7 separate regions of the Homo sapiens genome follow, and regions 1, 3, 4, 5, 6 and 7 are each linked to region 2. Evidence: promoter capture Hi-C in 16 types of primary human blood cells and fetal thymus (Javierre and others, 2016). All regions are on one chromosome and are shown on one strand. Each heading gives the region's core, a stretch centred on a gene start or on the middle of the fragment in contact. The rest is flanking DNA. Distances are from core to core; before and after follow the strand shown. Region 1 holds the start of SGCG (sarcoglycan gamma). Region 2 holds the start of FGF9 (fibroblast growth factor 9). Region 3 has its middle 77 kb from the start of LINC00362. Region 4 overlaps LOC124903134 (a long non-coding RNA gene). Region 5 has its middle 110 kb from the start of LINC00621. Region 6 overlaps SGCG (sarcoglycan gamma). Region 7 overlaps SACS (sacsin molecular chaperone).

Region 1 (3,029 bases), core at 350-2,849, 1.5 Mb after region 2:
CATATCACCAGGATTTGATGTACAAATAATTTCATCGCCCAGGTAGTAAGCCCAGTACCCGATAGACAGTTTTCCGAACCCCACCTTTCTCCCTCCCTCCTTCCTCAAGCAGGCCCCAGTATCTGATTGTTCCCATCTCTGTGTGCATGTATACTAAGGCACTGCTTCTTATATTCAAGGTTTAGTACTAAAATGCAAATATGAAGTATATAATTTAGTAAGTTTTAATCCTGCTGCAAACCAGGTCACATAAAAATAATGCAAAATAAAATATTAAAATTATTCAGAAGTTCGATATTTATTCTGTTGTCTTTACACCTTATAAAATGGAATGACCTAATTACTCTTAAATAAACATAAAGACAATTTAAGGTCACATTTGTTACATTCACATAATTTGTTAAACACAATAGAAATGTTAGTTTACTAGAAAAGAACTGTCATAATTTTAACATGCAGAGTTTGTTTACCTTCTATTATGGTGATCTTTGTTTAAGATTTTCTCCTCAGATGTTAAAAGTTTTTCACTTAAAGAGGCTTAGGGAAAGTGATTTTTAAAGAGTCACTGTTACATGGTAATATGCCGTTCATTTGGATGAGACTAGTATATAGGTAATAGTCACAAGTTCTAACTTGCATGTTAATTTGAAGAGATTTTTCGTAAAATTTTATCAACATTAGTTTCTAATGGAAACCAGTCTTAGAAGTTTTCTGCTGTTTGTTTGAGGTAAAGTTTTTTTAAGAAAGTTATAATTACATTAAACTATCATGCTTTAGGGTTTAAATGTTGGAAAGTTGGTTTTGTAAGAAGAAGAGTTTGGTTTCTTGTTTGTTTGTTTGTTTTGGTTTGTTTTTGGCATGCGAAGAGCTGTGTCCTGGAATTGGTGCCCAAAAAATTTTAAGTGTGGTATGAACTGTTTATGTCACTGAGTAAAATTAGACACGTCTGTTGCTAATGTGAGGGGATGAAACATGAGACAGGGCGAAACTCGTGAGAGCCCTTTCTCCAGGGACAGTTGCTGAAGCTTCATCCTTTGCTCTCATTCTGTAAGTCATAGAAAAGTTTGAAACATTCTGTCTGTGGTAGAGCTCGGGCCAGCTGTAGTTCATTCGCCAGTGTGCTTTTCTTAATATCTAAGGTAAGTGCTCAGTTTTAACTTAGATTTTATATCAGTACAAAGTACTACCTAAAAACCAAACGCTTAAGAGGTTTCTTAATATTCTTTCTTCTTTGGTGGCATAATAATAAATTTAAAATAATGTTGAATAAATTGGTGTATCACAACATAATGACATATCAAGTATCAATGAAATTCTCATTTCAACTAAGTTATTCTGACTACAAATATGCTACATATTTTTAGCATAATCCTATATTTCTAACATTTTTAATTTGTAGAATGCCAAAGGTAGCATTTCTGTATTATTGGGCATTGAATTGGATCCTGTAGTTAATTTAAACAAAGTATTATCTTTAAGATCACCTACTTCTAATTCTGCTCTTAAACTTTAGTGGTAGAATTACATTTGCTTTAGATTTTCTTGATAGTTTTGTTATAGACACTAAGAAATAAACTAAAATGAATGACAACAAAAGTCCAGTGGTTTTATAAGTTGGAAATAAACAAAACAAGAGCAAAATAGCAACCTGACTCCTTCACTATTTTTGGAGTGAAAAGGGAAGAATGTTTCTTTCCCTAAATCTGGAAAATATAAAATACTGCTCAAAATATGTATGAAAAAATAAACATAAGTGGGGTAAAAGTACACATGTGCTAATGCTTCAGCTTACTGAAGTTATGAGTTCTTTCTTTGCGTTTTCTAAATTAATACATGACAACTAGCAAACACAATTTTTTTAAAGGAAGGATTAGAAAAAAATAATACGGAAAAATATAACTCAGCTGACTGAAAGATTTGCCAGCAGACCAGTACAAAAACGAACTACGGAATACACCGTTTGTTTTTTGCTTATTTTCTTGCAAACATTTTGTAGGTACAAAAAGGCACCTTTGTGGAATTTAAAAAGTAATGCTACAAGTTGGGGTTCGTTTTATAGGTTCTAGGATTCATTTCAGATTGTCTTTCAAAGACAAATGAAAAGTAGCATTTCAATGTAGTTAGATATAGCATTCCAAAGACTAACAAATTCAGGTGTCCAAAAGATATCAGCTAAGCTTGCAGTTAAAATGCGGAAAATGAAATTGTTCCATATTGTCCTTTAAAAAATGTACTTGCTAGTCATTAAACTAAGTTGTTATTAAATTGCATTAAAAATTAAATGATAGTTGTAAATTATAGTGGGTTCCCAATGTGTTCAGTTTTGCATAACTTATAGGGCCTGAGGATCTCCCTCCACTCCCTAATCTGTGGCTCATCACAGCGCTTGTGTCTTCTCAGCTTGAGGCACCAGGGCTGTGGTTTCCCAGTGGGAGGGGAGAAACTACAGCGTCCTGAGGATGACTCTGCTACTCTCCTGCTCCTTCAGAACCCACCTTGACCTTCATGACACCTTCCTGTCTCTCCCTCCCTCCCTCCCCTTCTCTCAGCCTCTATAGCACCTGTCTGGCTTTATTCTTCTCCAGACCTACTGCAGGGCCAGATAGTTCTACGACGTTCTCATGAGGATTGCAGGATCCATCACTTGCTACTTTGGCCATTTTGGATTCCAGCTTCATTTTTAATTTTATATGTTATGCTGTAGATAGTTTTATGGGAACACTGGTACAGGAGTATTTAGTAATTTGTGAATGGTAAAGGTCTCAAGACTTTTCTCAGAACCTGTGAAAATCTCACTGCCTGCTCGACTTCAGTATGACTGGTGGGTAGGACCACTGAGGAATGGGGACAGGAGGGCTTGCTGTGCCCAAAGGCGTTTGTGCTTCATCCTAAGCACCAGTGAGACCTTTGAACCTCTAGAAAAGGAGAGCAGCCCAGTCACATGGGTGCTTTGGAAGGATCACTGCAGTTGACATGGAGAATGGATTAAGGGCAGTGGAGGCGGCAGTGAAGAGTACCTTAAAACCTAG
Region 2 (3,265 bases), core at 726-3,225:
TTTTCCCCACTAAGTAACCATCCCGGCGCACTGTACCCAACTGGTCGAGGAACGCCCCTGCTGTACCCATCACTGCTGGCTGCCTCGGAGATTAATGCGAGCGACTCGGGTGGTTTATGAGAAGTGACACTTAATACCCAGCTTCTTGTATCTGCCGCCGAGCAGTTAACGTTAAAGCCCGCTCTGTACCACCGCGGATGTGACTGCTGTAAATACCACGGGGCAGGGCTCTCATGCTTCAGAAACACGTAAGCAAGACGCACCGAGCCAGCCCCGGACACCCAATGACCCTGGACTGCGGCAAAGGGGGGGTGGGAAAGGAAGAGGGGAGGACCACTCGCTCTTCTCTCCTTCCTCCTCGCCCGGGCCGGAGCACGCCTTCCTCCCCGGAGGGCAGGGGAAGGTCGCTCCAGGTCGCTGGCACCTCCAGCGCCCCCGAAATCTGCAAATTCATCGCTCCCTTTCGTCTTCAGGCGAAGCCCTCCCGTCCGGAGTAGGGCCAGCCCCAGTTATGCATCTCCAGCCTTTAGCTGACTACTAAGGCGGATCCGACTTCTCCCCCATAACCAGGTTTTGATTCGCTTCCCCACCGCAGGGGTTCAGTCTCTGCTTTCGACTTTGCTTCTCAGTTGCACGCCCCGCAGTGTGGAGCTGCGCTCAAGTCTCGGCAACTTTCACCATCTTGACCCGAGAGTCGGGCCGTTTCTAAGACAATGTGAACAAAGAGGAGCAGGGGGAGGGAAGGGGGGCCCCGCGGGAGGGCTGTGGGCGAGTGTGTGTGTGTGTGTGTGTGTGTGTGTGTGTGTGTGTGTGTTGGGGGGCGCCGCGCTCCGCGCCCGCCGCCACTGGGGATCCGGGCGCAGGCAGGCTGTCCCGGGCGCAGAGCGCGCCGCCTCCAGTCTCTCTGGCGGGCCCGGCCCGGCAGGGCCCCTGGCGGCCCCCGGAGGCGGGTTTCTTTGTCCCTGACTCCCGCTGGGCGCGAAGGCCGCCGGCGGCTAACAGAAACCCGAGCCCGCGCAACGGAGCTCAGGCTTCCACGTGCGGCCCCGCAGGGCAGAGCAGGAAGGAGCGGCTGCAGCCCCGGGGCGCCCCGCAAGCATCCAGTGCCCGGCCCTCCCAGCTCCGCGGCGGGCTTCGGACGGTGGAGTGAGACACCAGAACTCGCCTTTCGCTTCCCCGAGCCGATGCACGGCTTGGGATGGCGCCGCTCGTCCTAAGCAGCGTGGTTTGAGGGCGAGAAGACGCCTACTGGAGCGCTCCCCTCCACCCAGACTCCCGAAGACGCGCGCCCGAGTCGAAGTCGGGGACAGAGAAGGTTCTCTGGCGCCCCCCTGCCGACTGCTTTGCGGCCGCCGGGACCCGAGCAGCGGGGCGGGACCTAAACATAGCCCCAACCCAAAGATGCCCAGCAGAACGCTCCAAACAAAACAGAAACGGTGGCCGCATCTGCGTGTGTGTGTGTGTGTGTGTGTGTGACGGGGGAGAGGAGTTGATCTTACCTGAAACATAGTTTGCGCTTCTGTGTGTGTGGCCGAAGAATGGAAGAGAAACTGCCATGGCCATCCGAGTCCATTAAATCAACTCCCCTTCCCTCCGACTCTCTCAACTCAGTCATATTCTATAATACAACGCAAGGTTACAGAGCCCCAGTGAAAACTAGTTTCCCAGTTTCACTCTGACCCTCCATCAATGTAGCCAGCCAGCTAGATTGTAGGTTACCGGCTTCTATTCTGCAGGAGAACTTTGAGTCTCGGGAGACTCAGGGTTTCTTCCTCCCGCCTCTCGCAGTGCATCTTTCATTTGCTTTTCTTTGTAAAGCCAGGGCTCCTCGACTGCCTCCCAGGAAGTCCTGCGCTCTGGCGCGCCGCACCTCGCCTGCCGCAGAGCGGCGCGGGCAGTAAGCCGGGCGCTAGGACCGCGGGGAGCCCGGGCTGCGGCGGCGCTACCTTAAACCCAGCCCAATGCCGCTGCCTGCGCCACTCTGCGCGCCGGCGGGGGCTGCGCAGGAGGAGCGCTCCGCCCGGCTACAACGCTCCGCGAGCCGGCGCGGCAACACCTGTTCGCGGCAGCCTGGGCGGCACGCGAGCTCCCGGACGCGGCTCTCCTCGCTCGCCGCTCGCCACCCGTTCTAAGCCAATGGACATCTGCCGAGCCTCTGGAGAATCCTGGATACTAGCTTTGGACGCCTAAAGTTTCTTCTTCTTTTTGTTTTATTATTATTATCATTTTTTGGAGGGGGGACCGGGAGGGGAGATTTGTCGCCGCCACCAACGTGAGATTTTTTTTTCCCCTTGAAGGATTCATGCTGATGTCTGCAGAGTCGGTTAGAGAGTAAAAACAGCGCATGCCTTCCTGGAGTCAGGATCCGTAAATTCTGACGTAGCCCGTGCATCTTAAAAATCCCTATAATAACGCCTAGGCATTTAAGTTGCTATGGTCATTCTGATCTCAAACCAAATGGAGAAACTACGGATTTTTTTTCCTTATTACGGTCGGATGGGATGAAGACCTTCCTGCCTGCTAAGAGCTGGGGATCTATCTATAGAGATACATAGATATGTTTATCAATATGTCAGTGTGTGAGTATAAAGTGGTGGTTTCTTAGACTATCAGTGGTTTGACCTTGAACCTGTGCCAGTGAAACAGCAGATTACTTTTATTTATGCATTTAATGGATTGAAGAAAAGAACCTTTTTTTTCTCTCTCTCTCTGCAACTGCAGTAAGGGAGGGGAGTTGGATATACCTCGCCTAATATCTCCTGGGTTGACACCATCATTATTGTTTATTCTTGTGCTCCAAAAGCCGAGTCCTCTGATGGCTCCCTTAGGTGAAGTTGGGAACTATTTCGGTGTGCAGGATGCGGTACCGTTTGGGAATGTGCCCGTGTTGCCGGTGGACAGCCCGGTTTTGTTAAGTGACCACCTGGGTCAGTCCGAAGCAGGGGGGCTCCCCAGGGGACCCGCAGTCACGGACTTGGATCATTTAAAGGGGATTCTCAGGCGGAGGCAGCTATACTGCAGGACTGGATTTCACTTAGAAATCTTCCCCAATGGTACTATCCAGGGAACCAGGAAAGACCACAGCCGATTTGGTAGGTATACCATTAACCCTTTAGTGTCCATGAGATGACATGTTGAAATTATAACTACCAAGAAGGTGGTGGCCGGGTGGGGGACGTGGGAAGGGTTCTCCCCTCCTCCCCTCTTTCTCTGTATCTCTGTCTCTCTCTCTCTCTGTCTTGCCAGCTCCGAAAAAAAAATGCCT
Region 3 (3,129 bases), core at 86-2,585, 1.4 Mb after region 2:
GCTAAATGCGCATGCCCATCAAGAGATCTTGGCGTATAGAACATGAATATCACCACCAGAGAAACTGACTATTCCTTGAGTGGCCGAAAACCTTAGGAAGTGAAAATTAGAGACTGTTACAATGTTCATAATCTCAAAAGGACAAATAGGATACAAACCAAATCATGCGTACAGAGAATATTCCAAGGTCAGATTCTACCCAAGAGGGAGTTTGAACGATGAGCTCATGATCTCAGTGCTGGGGCCACTCTCAGACAAGCCCGAGCCCCATTTGTGGAAACAATAGGATGGTCTGGACTCAAATGAACTGTTAACAAAATAAGGGAGGAAATTTTGTTGCTGCTGGTATGGAAAGGTGGAAATGTCTTCCACGGGCATCCCAGCATTCCTGATGTTACTGAGGCAGCCTCTGAAGCAGTGGCTCTTTGGAATAAGTCAGCAACCCCAATCATTAATTAAAGTTGTATCCCAGTTAATTACTGCATGAATTTTGACAACAAAAATAAAGCATAAATACAAAACTCTTGGAACAAAATAAAGGAAGTTCAGGACCTTGAGGAAGAACATAGGGAAATTTCAGTCAGGACCAAGGGTTGTTAGTGAGGATTTTATTATGAGGAAGTGGTAGCAGCCTTCAGTTCTCTGGAGAGCAAAGGCTCAAGAGAAAGGAGTGCCCTTATGAGTTTTTCATCATACACTTTTTCTTCCCAGACCCAAATCTTAAATAACCTCACGCCTAAACTCTACAGCAATCCCCCTGTTAGGATAATCTGGGCATCAGTAACTCCTCCCACTCTTACCTTTAAACTAGTCTGTACTTAACTTTTTTGCATATCAGCAAGATCTTTTTATTTACTCTTGACACAAAACGGATTCATTGAGCCCTCAGAGCTTAATTCTCTCCCTATCCTTTTTTTTTTTTTTTTTTTTTTTTTTTTTTTGAGACGGAGTCTCTCTCTGTCGCCCAGGCTGGGGTGCAGTGGTGCGATCTCGGCTCACTGCAAGCTCCGCCTCCCGGGTTCACGCCATTCTCCTGCCTCAGCCTCCTGAATAGCTGGGACTACAGGCTCCCGCCACTATGCCTGGCTAATTTTTTGTAATTTTTAGTAGAGACGGGTTTCACCATGCTAGCCAGGATGGTCTCGATCTCCTGACCTCATGATCCGCCCGCCTCGGCCTCCCAAAGTGCTGGGATTACAGGCGTGAGCCACCGCACCCGGCCAATTCTCTCCCTATCCTTTGTCTTCTGAGGATGCTGATACAGTAAGTATCAACCATATCCAGTCTTTCACCCATGAAGATTGTCTTCGAGTATTATTCCATAATTTGTAATTTCTATTACATGTCTCTTTCCCAATTGGGTCATGACATTTTTTGAAAATAATGTATTATCTACTGCAGGTTAGGATATATTTAAAGTCCCTTTCTAAGCATGAATTCCCTATTTTATCTGCCTTTTTAAAATCCTCAATCCAGAACCCACTGTTCCAAGAACCTATGCGCTGAAAGAGATTCTTTCTTCTGTCTCTAAGACAATCAACATGTTGGATGCAGTCAGTCTGATCAGAAAACTACAATCATGTTAAACTCTGACATCTTCTTCTCCTAAAGGCCATGTTTTTATATCTGGAGACAGAGGAGGGTATACACCCCGCATCTCCTTTGGGAAAAGGAACTATACTTTTCTCCAGGAGATATGAACACCCTTATTTCACCTATTTAAAAGCAAGGAAACGGCCGGGCGCTGTGGCTCACGCCTTTAATCCCAGCACTTTGGGAGGTCGAGGCGGGCGGATCATGAGGTCAGGAGATGAGACCATGCTGGCTAACACGGTGAAATCCTGTCTCTACTAAAAAATACAAGAAATTAGCCAGGCATAGTGGCTGGCCCCTGTAGTCCCAGCTACTCGGGAGGCTGAGGCAGGAGAATGGCGCGAACCCAGGAGGCGGAGTTTGCAGTGAGCCGAGATAGCGCCACTGCACTCCAGCCTGGGCGACAGAGCGAGACTCCGTCTCAAAATAAATAAATAAATAAATAAAATAAAAGCAAGGAAACTTTACGATTTGGGTCAAGATCTCCAAGCCATAAATGCACTAGGATTGCCTTCTGTTCTGATTGCCCCGTTATCAGCTTTTGCTTTTCCGTGCATCCGACCCTGCCAGCCACTCCTATTTGTGCTTCTGTATTAGGGTCTCTGGAATATTTGGCCCTGACACTTAGAGTCTTTTGTGATTCTCTCCATAGAAATTCTTAGAAGGGACATACTGTATGCCTAGTTACTCCATATTTGTTCACTGTGTCAATGTGATAACATAGGCTGTCTACAAACAAGGTGACTTTCCCTCCAGCCAATGAGAAGTAGGAACAAAACATAAAGCAAATATAGGTTTACCTTGAGATGGTCACATAGAACATGTTTCTGCTGTAAGTTGACCTTCTGTACTTCTTCCCAGAAGAATTAGAGGACAGTTTTTCTGTCTCCTGAAGATGCTAACTTAGGATGATGTTTGGAGGGAGCAAACTTAGTTTTTAATGTTTGTCTTCTCAAAAACTCATGCTGAAATTTAATTGCCATTGTAACAGTATTAAGAGGTGGGACCTCTAAGAGGTGATTGGGCTGTAAACCCACCCATGAGGGTGAGTTTAATGCCTTTAAGAAAGGGCTTTCAGAAGTAGGTCATATCACTCTGCTCTTCTTCTCTCCTGCCATAGGAGGAATGCTGTTCCTTTCATCAGAGGATGCAGCATTCAAGGTACCATCTTGGGAGCAGAAACCAGGCCCTTACCAGACACCAAGCCTGCCAGCACATTGATCTTGGATTTTCCAGCCCCCAGAACTATAAGAAATAAATTTCTTTTCTTCAAAATTATCCAGTCTTTGTTATTCTGTTACAGCAGCACAAAAGAGACTACGACAAAGTTGAATTCTGCCAGAAGATACGTTTCCTAACACATCATGGAAACACAGATAAAATCTCTGCCATCTTGGAGCTTCTAGGGAAGTTTCTAGTGAACCACAAACTAAAAACAGGTAAATATAGAATCTTAGATAGTAATAAGTGATAAATAAGAAACAACAAGCAGGAAGAAGGGTAAGAAAAGTTGGGTGGGAGAGGTATTGAAATTTG
Region 4 (3,103 bases), core at 403-2,902, 1.5 Mb after region 2:
CAAACTTCTGCTTTTGAGATTTTAATATATACGCATAGGTTTCAGTCAGAGAGATGAGTCATGAATACTCAGATCCAAATATATATAGCTCAAAAATAAACTGGCTACAACTTGTAAGGAGATTTAAATCCCCCTTTGCCATGCATTAACTATCAGCAGCTATTTCTTGGACAGCCTTCAGGGCTGCACACTCATGCTTCCAAAGAAAACCGTCTGTTGCAGTCACTGTGATGCGTCTACCCATCCGTCTCAGCCTGCTGTTAACCATGTCACAGACCTGCCTCTGATTCTCCCACAACTTCTGACCCCAGGTAGTGGGGAGCTACTCCCCGATTTTGTGTTACTTAGTTACCCAGGCCCAGAAACAGTTCTCCTTGAGTCTAAAGGCTCATAAAGTCTCTATTGAATAGTTTCATCAGGTTTTGTCTTGAGGAACTTTTTGACACGGAAACAGAAAAGTTCCCTTGTCCTCCTCGCAGGGCGGATGATAGGGGTGTGGCTCGCTTCTTCAGTGCCCCGCTGCCCAAACCGCTAGGGGAGCATACAGATGGGCAGGCTGTGGAGCTCCCACCCTAAGTCAGTGTCTAGGGGTGAATGTTTACAACTCCTGAAGCCCCAGTGGGCATGCTACAGGGTGCTCTTTTAGTTTAGCCATCTGTAGGCAGCTTGTGTTGGTCAGCTCAAGTAGACCCCTGCCTTATCACAAGGACAGAGATATTTCTGTATCCCAGGTTCTTGCCTTGGTGTACCAGAATCGGATCACACGTGGGCTTGGAGAATGAGTGTAACGTTTTATTGAGTAGAAGTAGCTCTCAGCAGATAAGGGAGCCAGAAGGAAGATAGTTTTCCGCTGGAGTTGGGCCACTCTGCATCCTGGGCTCTCCTCGGCTGCCCCAGCCAAACTCCGCATGGTTCTGCTTCTGTCCATCAGTGTGACCTGCAGGCGTCATTCTGCTTCTGCCATCGGTGGTTGGTGGCCTGCTGGCATGCCAATACCTGTCTCTCCACATCCCGTGTATTCCTCTGCTGATGTGCTCCTCCTGCTGTTCAGCCGCCTATGTGTCTGCCTGCAGGGTCTCGGGATTTTTAGGCACAGGATGGGGGCGTGGCAGGCCAGGGTGGTCTCATCTGTCCTCACCTAGGTCCGTGGGGGTGGAGTCCTAGCTAGGGGTCACTCCTTCCTCTACCCAGCACTTCCTTTCTCCCTTCAGTATCATTTAAAGGGGCCATGCTCTTCCCTTCCCGGCACTTCCATATGGGCACTACATGTTTAAATGAGAAAAAAAAAATCAAGGGCAAACATTAATTTTTCTAATAAAACATTAAAGGAATTTTTTCGAAATTAATTACCTACATAACTTGCTTTAATATTAACTTTCCTTTGGAGGAGCCAATGAAAAGTGGCCCATACTAGCAAGTGTAATTTGAAAAAAAGAAAAGATGTTGGCATTTCTAAAAAAAAAAACTTACTAAATTCTAGGTATTGTGTTCTATATTTTGCATACCTTAATTCATTTATTTCTTAAAACATTCCTATCATTTACATCTTAATTTTTACCCTCATGTTTTAGACGGGGAAAAAGAAGCATAAAGAATTTACAGTCTGGGCGCGGTGACTCATGCCTGTAATCCCAGCACTTTGGGAGGCTGAGGCAGGTGGATCACCTGAGGTCGGGAATTGGAGACCAGCCTGATCAAACACGGAGAAACCCCGTCTATACTGAAAATACAAAATTAGCCGGGCGTGGTGGCGCATGCCTGTAATCCCAGCTACTCAGGAGGCTGAGGCAGAAGAGTCGCTTGAACAAGGGAGGCGGAGGTTGTGGTGAGCTGAGCCATTGCACTCCAGCGTGGGCAACAAGAACAAAAACTGTCTCAAAAAAAAAAAGAATTTATACAGCTTGCCATAGGTCGTAAGATCATACAATGACCAAATAGAAAGAGATCAGAACCCACAGTTTCTACACCCAGAGGGCCCCCTAACCTTATACTATGTGGTCTTTACATAATTGAAAGTTATTAATATTCAGAATCATTGACATTTAGAACTATAGTAATTTCAGGTGCAGTGAGCCCACATGTTGTACAGTTAAGAAACACAGGACCATTCAAACCTTTAGCCTTTCTTGTAACACATTCCTGAATACTAAAAAAGCTGAGAAGAAAAAAATAGAGAAAGGAAATTTTTAAACATCAATTTAAAAAAATTAGTGTTAGGGATTTTTTTTTTAACAAGCATTTCAGTCACTGATGAAAAGCCTTAGGCCCACAGAGGTAGCTGTTACCACAGAAAAGATTGTTAGATCTAAGAATAGAATTTGGATTAACCAGGACCTCTAGCATAAAGTTCAATGTTCTTTCATCACAGCATGATGTTCAACTGAAATTTAAAGTCACAAATTTAAAGTTATAGTTTAACACATCACCTGTACCAATTTACATACAAATGTAGGTACAAGAAGAGCCCTTGGCTTGCAGACAGTCTTATAAAATATAGTGTTGAAGGGGAAAAAAAAAGGAACCTTGAACATCATCAAAGGAATAAACAAATAAGAAAGGGGATGGATTTTACGGAAATGACCTGAGAGCTGACTCTTACTTCGTTTTAACTAAATAAGAAAGAATAAGAAAAAAATGTACAGGTAAAAGCAGAATTGATGGCTTCCTGATCCTCTCTTTTCTGACTTCTGCAACTCACTGGAGCATGAGAGAAAAACAAAAGCTAATATTTTTATGTATATGCATTTTTCACAGCTTTACTGAAATATAATTCACATACCACACAAAATTCACCCATTTAAGGTACAGAATGAAAAAGGCTTTACTATATTCACAGTTATGCAGCAGGCACCAAACTCTCAACTTAGAACATTTTTATTAGCCCCTAATTGTCTATTTTTCATATTATGTCTATTAATTATACTATCTGATCTTTTGTCGTTGACTCCTTTCACCTAGTATAATGTTTTCAAAGTTCATCCATATTGTATTATGTGTCAGTAATTCATTCCTTTTATTGCTGAATAATATTCCATTGTATGGATATATCATGTTTTATTTATTCCTTCATCAGTTGATGTACATTTGGATTATTTCCCCATTT
Region 5 (3,080 bases), core at 527-3,026, 1.4 Mb after region 2:
GAAAAATTAAGGGTCAGCGAGCAGCGAGACAGAAGTCAGAATTTGAAAACCAGATTAGAACCAGAGAAATATCTCAGTCAAAACATGAGCACAGAGAATGCAACACTCGGTCCAATTTAACGAGGTTCCAGATCACCAGGCTTTCATTCTCATTTAGTCAACCATGCCAAAGCTCCGGCCCTAGAAGGACTAAAAGGCACTGCAATAGTTTGAATATTTGTCCCCTCCAAATCTCATGTTGAAATTTAATCCCTGTTGGAGGTGGGACCTAATGCAGGGGGTGGGGAGGGCAGGCGTTTGGATCATGGGGTGAGTCCCAATGAATAGATTATTACAGGGGAGGGTGAGTGAGTTCTTGCTCTATTAGTACCAACAACAGCTGGTTATTAAAAAGAGCCTGGCACCTCCATGCTCTGTCTGGCTTCCTCTAACCAAGTGATCTCTACAGGCTGGCTCCCCTTCACCCCATGCCATGAGTGGAAGCAGGCTGCAGCCCTCCCTGGAAGCAGATGCTGGCGCCATGCTTCTTGTGCAGCCTGCAGAACTGTGAGCCAAATAACCCTCTTTTCTTTATAAATTACCCAACCTCAGTTATTACTTTATGGCAACACGAATGGACTAAGACAGGCACTTAGCAGCTTCTGACAAAGACAGGATTCTAGTGCACGAGGAGAAACCAAGAGAAAATCAGTACTGAAAGGAGAAATCCAAATACATAAAAAGACACTTGCCCCAGGAGATGGCTTATTAACTGTGGTGAAGACCAGAAAAGATGAGCCACAGATTGGAGAAAGATATCTGCAAGGCAAGACCAATACAGGAATATTATACAGAATACATATATGTTTTATTAACCTCATACAAATGGGGGCAAGGAAAAGACAAACTAGCCAATGTTGTATCAGCCAATATACTTTCAAGGGATACAGTGGGCATCCACAGAACTTGAAAACTATACTGCCAACAAACAGATTTTAAAAATTGTTCAAACTCTCTTATAATCAAATCCAAAAGATATTATTTTATAGTCATCTGATTGAAAAAAACAAGTTTGATGTACCAAATGTAGATAAGAACGTGTGGGAACAGCAATTGTATTATTCTGGTGAGAATGTAAATTCATACCTCTACTTTGGAAAACAATTTAGTAATAGCCATGAAATTAAAGATGAGACTATCCAACAATCCAACAATTGCAGGTCTAGAGATGACCACACATTCATATGGAGAACATGCTGGGGTGTTCATTACAGAACTTGCTGTGAGGCAGGAAGAAAAGGGAGACTGTAATAATTGTCCCTCAGTTGGGAACTGGGCAAGGGCACAATAGCATTCATACAATGGAGACCAGTGAAGTTGCTGAAACGAAAAGTCCAGAGAACATGCTTTTTTTTTTTTTCTTTTTTTTCTTTTTTTTTTTTTTTTTGAGATGGAGTCTCTCTGTGTCACCCAGGCTGGAGTGCAGGGGCGCAATCTCGGCTCACTGCAACCTATGCCTCCTGGGTTCAAGAGATTCTCTACCTCAGCCCTCCCAAGTAGCTGAGATTACAGGCACGTGCCACCACGCCCAGCTAATTTTTGTATTTTTAGTAGAGATGGGGTTTCACCATGTTGGCCAGGATGGTATTGATCTCTTGACCTCATAATCCACCTGCCTTGGCCTCCCAAAGTGCCGGGATAACAGGCGTGAACCACCACACCCAGCCAGAACATGCATTTTTAAAAATGTGAAGAAAGTGTACTAAGACTAGTCACATACATTTAAAAAGCAATTTCTCTTTTGAGTACATACATAGACGACATTTTTTTTTATACATAGTAGTTTACTTCATGTCTAGAGTTGTGTGAGCTGGTGACAAACAACTCTGTGAGTAACTGCCTACTAAGGAATGGAAAGAAAGGGATCCAATGGGGCTGGTTGGGGTGGTTCATGCCTGTAATCCCAGCACTTTGGGAGGCCAAGGCAGGTGGATCACTTGAGGTCAGGAGTTTGAGACCAGCCTGGCCAACGTGGCGAAACCCCGTCTCTACTAAAAATACAAAAATTAGCTGGCTGTGGTGGTGTGTGCCTGTTAAGATCAGCTACTTGGGAGACTGAGGTAGAGAATCCCTTGAACTTGGGAGACAGAGGTTGCAGTGAGCTGAGATCGCGCCACTGCACTCCAGCCTGGGTGACAGAGTGAGACTCCATCTCAAAGAAAAAAAAAAAAGAAAAAAGGAAAAGAAAGGGATCTGATGGGAATGTGGAGTTAAACTGCATATGTAAATCTTTATTTTCTTAAATTGAAGCAAAATAATTAAAACATTTGTAAAAATATGATAAATGTTAAACCAGATTTGTCAAATCTGGTTGATGTGACATTTGTCTGATATATAATGTTATTTTCATTTGAAATATTACATATTATACAGTTACAAATTTAAATTATTTAATAAAGAAAAATTACTACAGTGCTTTATTTCCTCAATAAAAGCCTATGAGGCGGAACAGTTAATAATGGTTCAAATAACTTAAGGAGGCATTTTATTTAAGGAAGAACTTCTTAAAAGTGAGATTTCCAAAACAGTCATTATTTAGACGGGACCAATGCTATTTTACTAGGTTTATCAAAGATGAGGCTGTCTACAAACTTATGTATCATTCTAATAAATATTTTAATACAGAATGTTCTAAATTTTAATAGGAAAATAATATTTAAGTTCCTTCCATGTGCCATGCATAATCTTATATCAAGTATAATTTCATTTTTATATAATTTCTGTGCCTTACCTCTTGCTTCTCCCCAATTCACAAATGAAGAAAGTAGTTACACCGCCCTTCGTTCATGTACAAGGGGAGGGTTTGAATCCAGGTCTCTAGGAACCCAAAAGTCATGCACCTTCCAAGGCAAAGGAGATTACCATGTTACAGCATAGATAAAAACATAATAGAATTAGGAATTGGATAAGTATAGAGGGTTCAATAGTGTTCCCCCAAAATTCCTCTCAACACTGAAGCTCAGAATGTGACCTTATTTGGAGATAGGATCTCCAAAGGTAATGCAGATGTAATCAGTTAAGATGAGGTCATACCGGATTAA
Region 6 (2,876 bases), core at 88-2,587, 1.6 Mb after region 2:
TGTTGGCCAGGCTGGTTTCAAACTCCTGACCTCAAGTGATTCACTCACGTTGGCCTCCCAGAGTGCTGGGATTGCAGGTGTGAACTACCATGCCTGGACTGTTTTTCATGTAAATTTTAAAATCAATTTTTCAGGTTTTTTGAAAAACTCTCCTGGTTTTTTTTTATTGGAATTACACTGAATTCATGCCTTTATAATCGTGAAGTCTCTTGTCCATAAATATGGTATATCTCTCTATTCACACAGCCTTTTATATGTCCTTTAATATTTTATGATATTCTCCATTTAGGTTTGGCCCATAATTATTAGAATTCATTACCAGGGTGTTTATAGTTTTTGTTTCTATTGAGAATGGGTTCTTTTTTCTGTTAAATTTTCAAAGTGATTATTATTGATTTTTTCATGATAGTTTTTAAGCCAGCAACTTTACTGATCATTGTTATTAGTTTACATATATATGTATATAAAAATACATACATATGCCGAGAGAGAGAGAGAGAGAAAGAGGAAGATGGGGTCTTGTTATATTGTCCAGGCTGGCCTTGAACTCCTGGGCTCAAATGATCCTTCTGCCTCAAATGATCCTTCTGCCTCAGCCTCCCAAGTAGCTGGAACTACAGATGCACACCACCATACCCAGCTTAGTTTTAATATTTTGATTGTAGAACTCAACTGATTTTTCCATTAAGATGATGATAGTGCCGAAAAAAGAGTCATCCTTTTTATTATTATACTTCTTACTTCTCAGATCCCTGTATTGTTACTTTGGCTGGGACAAATGTTGGCTAGAAAGAGTAACGATGGACATCTGTGTTTACTTCCTGACTTTGAGAAATGCTTCTAAATTTTTTAAATGAAATTATGTCTGCTATAGGTTTTTGGTAAATATTAATACCTATTATCAAATTAAGAAAGTTCCATTTTGGTCTAAGTACCCACCTCTCCTTTTTCTTTCAAACAGTGTGTGTAAGAGCAATCAAAGGTTTGGTGTAAACTCACATATGAAATGAAAGAGCCAGTACATTTTGGGGAAGTTGGATTATTTACACTTCCACTTCAATGTATTTAATGAAGTTTCTCTTTTCAAGTTTTGTACATCTTCAGGTCCATTTTGGTTGTTTCCTTGCTAGAAATTTTTCCTTGTTACTCATTATGAGCATATAATTATTCATAATTATTCATAAATGTTTATGCTAAAAGCATGTTATCTTTTGCTTTAATGCAAGGTTTGTATGTAAGCGGCTACTAGGTCAATCTTGCAAATTACATTGTTAACATCTTCTATATACTTAGTATTTTTGCCTTGTTTTTCTCTTTTTTTTTTTTTTTTTTTTTTTTTTTAGACGGAGTCTTGCTCTGTTGCCCAGGCTGGAGTGCAGTGACACGATCTCGGCTCACTGCAAGCTCCGCCTCCTGGGTTCACGCCATTCTCCTGCCTCAGCCTCCCAAGTAGCTGGGACTACAGGCGCCCGCCACCACACCCGGGTAATTTTTTGTATTTTTAGTAGAGACGGGGTTTCACCCTATTAGCCAGGGTGGTCTCGATCTCCTGACCTCATGATCTGCCCGCCTCGGCCTCCCAAAGTGCTGGGATTACAGGCGTGAGCCACCGCGCCGGGCCTGAATTCTTCCTTTTAATCATAAGTAATGTTACCCTTTTGCCCTTATTTTGTCTGGTATTACAATTGCTATACCTGGTCCTACTTTCTTTTGCACTGATTTACATTTTCCAAGTGTTTTATTTTCAATATGTTTGCAGCATTATGTTTCAGTTGTTTCTCTATGTTTCAAATTTTTTGGTTTGAGATTTTCTTTTAATGGGTTAATTTAGCCCATTTATATTTATTATGGTAACTGGTTTATTTGCCACATTTCTATCATTTTGTTTTATTTACCATGCTTTTTCTTTTCATTTTTTCTCCTTTTTCTTTTTTTGTTGGATTAATAAACTTTTCCTCCTCTCCACCCATATTTCCCCCAATAGTTCTATTTTTATTCTTTCAATGATTGTCTTTTGTTTATATGCACAGACACAAATTAATACTTGTCAACCAAGTCTACATCAATACCACCTTCTTCCCAAATAATATTTTTAAAAACTTAGTCACTTCCATCCAAACTTCCCTTTCATTGTGGTTTTATTTCAGCATTGCTTTTATTCATCTCCCTGCTTTATTTTTTCAGGCCATATCTATTTAGCTTTACCAGCACATTTTGTAATGTCCACTGCTTCTTCTTGGAAACATTCTTTTCTTCTTATTTAATTTCCATAAGTACATTTTTTGGTGAAGATCTATAGATTGTACATTTGTTCCCTGTGTCTGAAATGTCCAGTTTCCTTTATAGTCAAGTGCTGGTTAGGCTGAGCCAGATTTCTATCTAGGCTGACAATAATTTTACACGAGTATTTTAAAATATATTACTCATTAGTGCACTTTTGATTCTTTAGAGATCATGTGATTTTCATTCTGAATTCTTTTAAGATTTTATTGTTAATGTTGGCCATCTGCAGTTTCACCACGGTGTCTGGTATGTGTTAGTTTATACTTGAGTATCAGTGAACTTCTTCAGTTCTTCAGTTTCAGAAACTCATGTTCTTTTTCAATTTTGGAAAATTATTAGCCATAGTTCTTCATATGTATGTCTTCCTCATTCTCTAGAGGGTAGAGGTTTTTCACTTGTAGTCTGTGGACCCCATCAAGAGACCTTTTCACTGGGGTGGTAGCGAGCTCCCTCCTTCCCCTTGATAAAGTCACTTTTCTTCAGCCTTCACCTATAAGGTGTCTGACTACTCCTACAGGACAACTGGCTTGGTGCTCGGCACGTTGGCCTGGGGTAGAGATGAGGGCAAAGTGAGGCTGACATGTGCTACTTAT
Region 7 (3,256 bases), core at 731-3,230, 1.7 Mb after region 2:
TTTTTTGCCTGGAAAAACACAAAACTCCAACTAGATCAACTATCAAGGCCAAATGAGGTTTTCTGTGTAAATTTTAATATTCAAAAGCAATAAAATCTAAATGCTGAATTGAAGCTTCGAAGTAGCAAGTACTTTAAATAAAGCTGAAGGCACAGAATTCAGGTAGCTCCAGAACAGAGAGCACTCTTAGCCCTCATCTGCCTAACTCTGAAGACTTGTGCCTCAACTATAAAGATGAAGAACTCCTATCTGTCAGTAATAAAGTGTGAATTAGTCCCAGACATGCAGCTGTCCCTGAGGCAATGGAAATATCAATTCAGCTCTACCTAGAGGAAAAAAATATTTAATGTATCTGTTTCCAAACACATATATACCACATATATCAGCTAATCTGATTCCCTAAAAAGGTGACATAAACTCAACTAAATCAATGAGCACCTAAACCTAGTATATAACAAGCACTTCATATTCTATTAATCCTAAAAATCTATAATTCCAGCATGAAAATATACAGGAAAATATTTTCCTAATATTTCCAATAAATACACACATACACACACATTAAAACTTAATATTAAGATGTTAAGTTTGATTTCCAATGAACTATTTCTCAGGAAACACCCATTACGATGATTTCATATGTACATTTTCCTTTATTAAAAGTATGGCACTTTATATAACAGCAGAAATAATTACATGATTTCACATCCAGAAGCAATAAAATGTGGAGGTGCAAACATTCCTTATTCCCAATAAAAGTAAAAAAAGTTTCAACATGTTCTGTAAGCCCTTAATTGCATAAAGTATATTTAGCATCATTTACAGCCAGTACACTTATATAAACTAATTATCATTACCTTTTACATTCTGCAAAAGAAATATGTTAAAGTAAAGAAGCATGGCGAGACAAACATGAATTAAATGTCAGTTCTGATCATTCATGGGGAAATATAAGCCGATAATTATAAACTACTAGATAACACAATGATTTTAACAATTTTTGATGTTTTTAAAGTTAAAAAAACTCCACTACATGCCATATTGAAAGAAAAGGTTGTTTTTTTTTTAACTGCAGCACCTTTAGACAACAAAAGATTGCATCCTGTTCAACCACACTATATAAATTATAACATTTGTGGAAAATATGTACACACAAACATAAAGCAAGTGTTCTAACAGTTAATAAATGTTGTCTTGGCAAGCAGTTTCCAGAAACAATACTAACAACTGGTAATAAGAACTGCCACCATTTTGAGTTTTCCGTTGCTATCTTCATCAAACAGGAAGCCTGTAAACATAAGATGTTAAAAAAAAATTTAAATAAAGATGTAAAGTGCACTCAGTGCACTCTAAAAAGTACTACCTTCACACTCTTAGTCAAGTAATAGGATTAAAATACTCTACCATTTCTTAAATGCACTGAGTACAACATAAAATTACAACAAATTCATGATCAGAGCCAGCTGATGAGAAAATAACGCATCCAAGAGGATCCACTTAAAAAAATGACAGACTACAAAGACTTAATTCCCCTTATGTTTAAACCAATTATATGTCCAGTGTTTCATTAGCTCCTTCAAAAATACCATGTTAAAAACATAAAATTAACTTCATCCTAACCAGAGACATACATAGACTCTTATCTAACAAACTGCTAAGCTTTGGTTATATAAAGTGCAGTTCAATGATGTATCATCCCAATCATTCAAATCCATCCAGCTATTTTGCAGCTCACCACCATCTTCAAAATAGTTTTCTTTTAGATTCAGTTAAGGTTTTCCGTTGGTATTCATGTTCATAACAACTCCAGAATTCTCCAAGAACAATCTGCAATGTGCTTAACAATTCCTAGCTAATTGGCAATGAAGCTTAATGAAGTACAGCAATTTATTCGTGCTACAACACATTCAAGATCTACCTTTTTTTTCGTTAAATATCTTCACACTTTTTGTTGCATAAAATTTTCAAGTTTTATTATGATACAGGCAGTACATTCCATCACCCTCATAGCAACCTCAGAAGTGAACCTGTCATTTGGGATCTGAGGAAAGGGAAGCAAATCAGGGTATCTTGTTTTTAAACTGTCTACACCATAAGCTTCCAATGTGTGAACATCATTTGTCAGTCCTTCAAGTTGCTGACTATATTCCTCTATTTTCTGAGCAAGTGCAGTTGGTTTTACATCTTTATCAGACTTTCCCCTCACAGCATAGTCAGCTGCAATCAAAGCTAACTTGGTAGAAAGGTAACATTTAAAGCACACCCACTCATTGGCATTTTTATGAAGGTCATTCCTGGCAGCTGAGAAGTTTGCTCTGGCTTGTCTTAGCCATCTGCGTGCTTCCACTGGATTGCCAACCGACTTGAAAGTGGGAGGAACAAAGAACCTTTGAGAGTAAGTCTGTCCGGCTGAAGGGGGGCATTTTTCTTTGTTCTGTTGCTGTCTTTCAGATTTATGGCTCGTTGCTTCTTGATTCCATGAAGTATAGAATCTCTGAAATGAGTATTTGTCTGACTGAAATCGGGATGCTGAGGTTGAAAATGTTCGTCTGGAGGCCCTGTCTGCATTTTGATCTAGAAAAGCCTGTTTTTCTAATCTGTTGATTTCATTCTGCAAATGTTTAAAAACTTCATTGGCAATGTCATGGTTCTCTGGATTTTTGTCAGGATGCCATTTCAAATACAACCGCCTAATAATCTTTTTTCGTTCCGATTCTGGAAGCTTCCATGCTTGCTCCACCACAGATGTCACTTCTTTTAAGATTTCTGGTAAAGAATTAACCTTAAGCTTTTTGGGGGACTGATGTTTGGAAGAAGTCTTGTGGCTCTCTCTACCAGAGAAAAGAGGAGGAATGCTTCTCAGGCCAGGGGTGAGGAACTCAGTGGGGCTGGTTGGTGTAGAAGGAGCACTGTCCCTGCTTTGAGAGCTTTCCTCAGGTCTTGAAAACTTATACAGATCAAGAGAGCTAACTATTTTATATTCACTATAACCAATATCTATCTGATATATCTTTCCTAGAAAACTAGAATTGTCAGCATCTTCTCTTTCAACTTCTTGTACAATAATTGCATATGTGTATGTTGGCTGGTATGATCCATAGATATCACCACCTTCAGCATCAACAAGGTACCCAACATATTCTCCCGGGTAAAAAACATTCATTGGGTCCATAAGCAGAGTGTAATGAATTTCAGCAGGAATTGGTGTGCCAGGCATTGGAAGTTCCAGTTTTGATGGCTCCGAAGAGTCATATTT

Evidence for each region. Contacts are between HindIII fragments. The CHiCAGO score rates a contact against its expected background, and 5 or more counts as called.
Region 1: a fragment that was not itself captured here is called in contact with the fragment with the promoter of FGF9 in region 2 in 1 of 17 cell types (endothelial precursors); the score reaches 5.0 in endothelial precursors.
Region 3: a fragment that was not itself captured here is called in contact with the fragment with the promoter of FGF9 in region 2 in 1 of 17 cell types (M0 macrophages); the score reaches 5.1 in M0 macrophages.
Region 4: a fragment that was not itself captured here is called in contact with the fragment with the promoter of FGF9 in region 2 in 3 of 17 cell types (M0 macrophages, M2 macrophages and endothelial precursors); the score reaches 7.5 in M0 macrophages.
Region 5: a contact is called between a fragment that was not itself captured here and the fragment with the promoter of FGF9 in region 2, in 1 of 17 cell types (endothelial precursors). The highest score is 5.3, in endothelial precursors.
Region 6: a contact is called between a fragment that was not itself captured here and the fragment with the promoter of FGF9 in region 2, in 1 of 17 cell types (M2 macrophages). The highest score is 5.0, in M2 macrophages.
Region 7: a contact is called between a fragment that was not itself captured here and the fragment with the promoter of FGF9 in region 2, in 1 of 17 cell types (endothelial precursors). The highest score is 6.1, in endothelial precursors.

Annotation. Positions count from the first base shown.
Region 1 is chr13:23,179,937-23,182,965 of GRCh38, forward strand. It overlaps SGCG (sarcoglycan gamma), which reads left to right and starts at 1,043. Exons shown (of 8, transcript NM_000231.3): 1 at 1,043-1,139. The HindIII fragment of the contact is 1,152 bases long and covers 1,024-2,175 here.
Region 2 is chr13:21,669,098-21,672,362 of GRCh38, forward strand. It overlaps FGF9 (fibroblast growth factor 9), which reads left to right and starts at 1,976. Exons shown (of 3, transcript NM_002010.3): 1 at 1,976-3,092. The coding sequence starts at 2,816. RefSeq lists silencers at 794-1,053, 1,834-1,883, 1,904-1,963. The HindIII fragment of the contact is 3,792 bases long and covers 1-3,265 here.
Region 3 is chr13:23,092,572-23,095,700 of GRCh38, forward strand. No RefSeq gene overlaps it. Among named protein-coding and RNA genes, the nearest start is that of LINC00362, 77 kb to the right of the region's middle. The HindIII fragment of the contact is 7,712 bases long and covers 1-3,129 here.
Region 4 is chr13:23,146,955-23,150,057 of GRCh38, forward strand. It overlaps LOC124903134 (a long non-coding RNA gene), which reads right to left. Exons shown (of 2, transcript XR_007063719.1): 2 at 772-1,262. Among named protein-coding and RNA genes, the nearest start is that of LINC00362, 22 kb to the right of the region's middle. RefSeq lists an enhancer at 665-834. The HindIII fragment of the contact is 3,996 bases long and covers 1-3,103 here.
Region 5 is chr13:23,028,677-23,031,756 of GRCh38, forward strand. No RefSeq gene overlaps it. Among named protein-coding and RNA genes, the nearest start is that of LINC00621, 110 kb to the left of the region's middle. The HindIII fragment of the contact is 4,691 bases long and covers 1-3,080 here.
Region 6 is chr13:23,308,765-23,311,640 of GRCh38, forward strand. All of the region lies in intron 6 of SGCG (sarcoglycan gamma), which reads left to right. It overlaps LOC107984585 (a long non-coding RNA gene), which reads right to left. Exons shown (of 2, transcript XR_001749787.2): 2 at 2,121-2,876. Among named protein-coding and RNA genes, the nearest start is that of SACS-AS1, 110 kb to the right of the region's middle. The HindIII fragment of the contact is 6,032 bases long and covers 1-2,876 here.
Region 7 is chr13:23,328,197-23,331,452 of GRCh38, forward strand. SACS (sacsin molecular chaperone) reads right to left here. Exons shown (of 10, transcript NM_014363.6): 10 at 634-3,256. The coding sequence ends at 1,940. Among named protein-coding and RNA genes, the nearest start is that of SACS-AS1, 89 kb to the right of the region's middle. The HindIII fragment of the contact is 229 bases long and covers 1,867-2,095 here.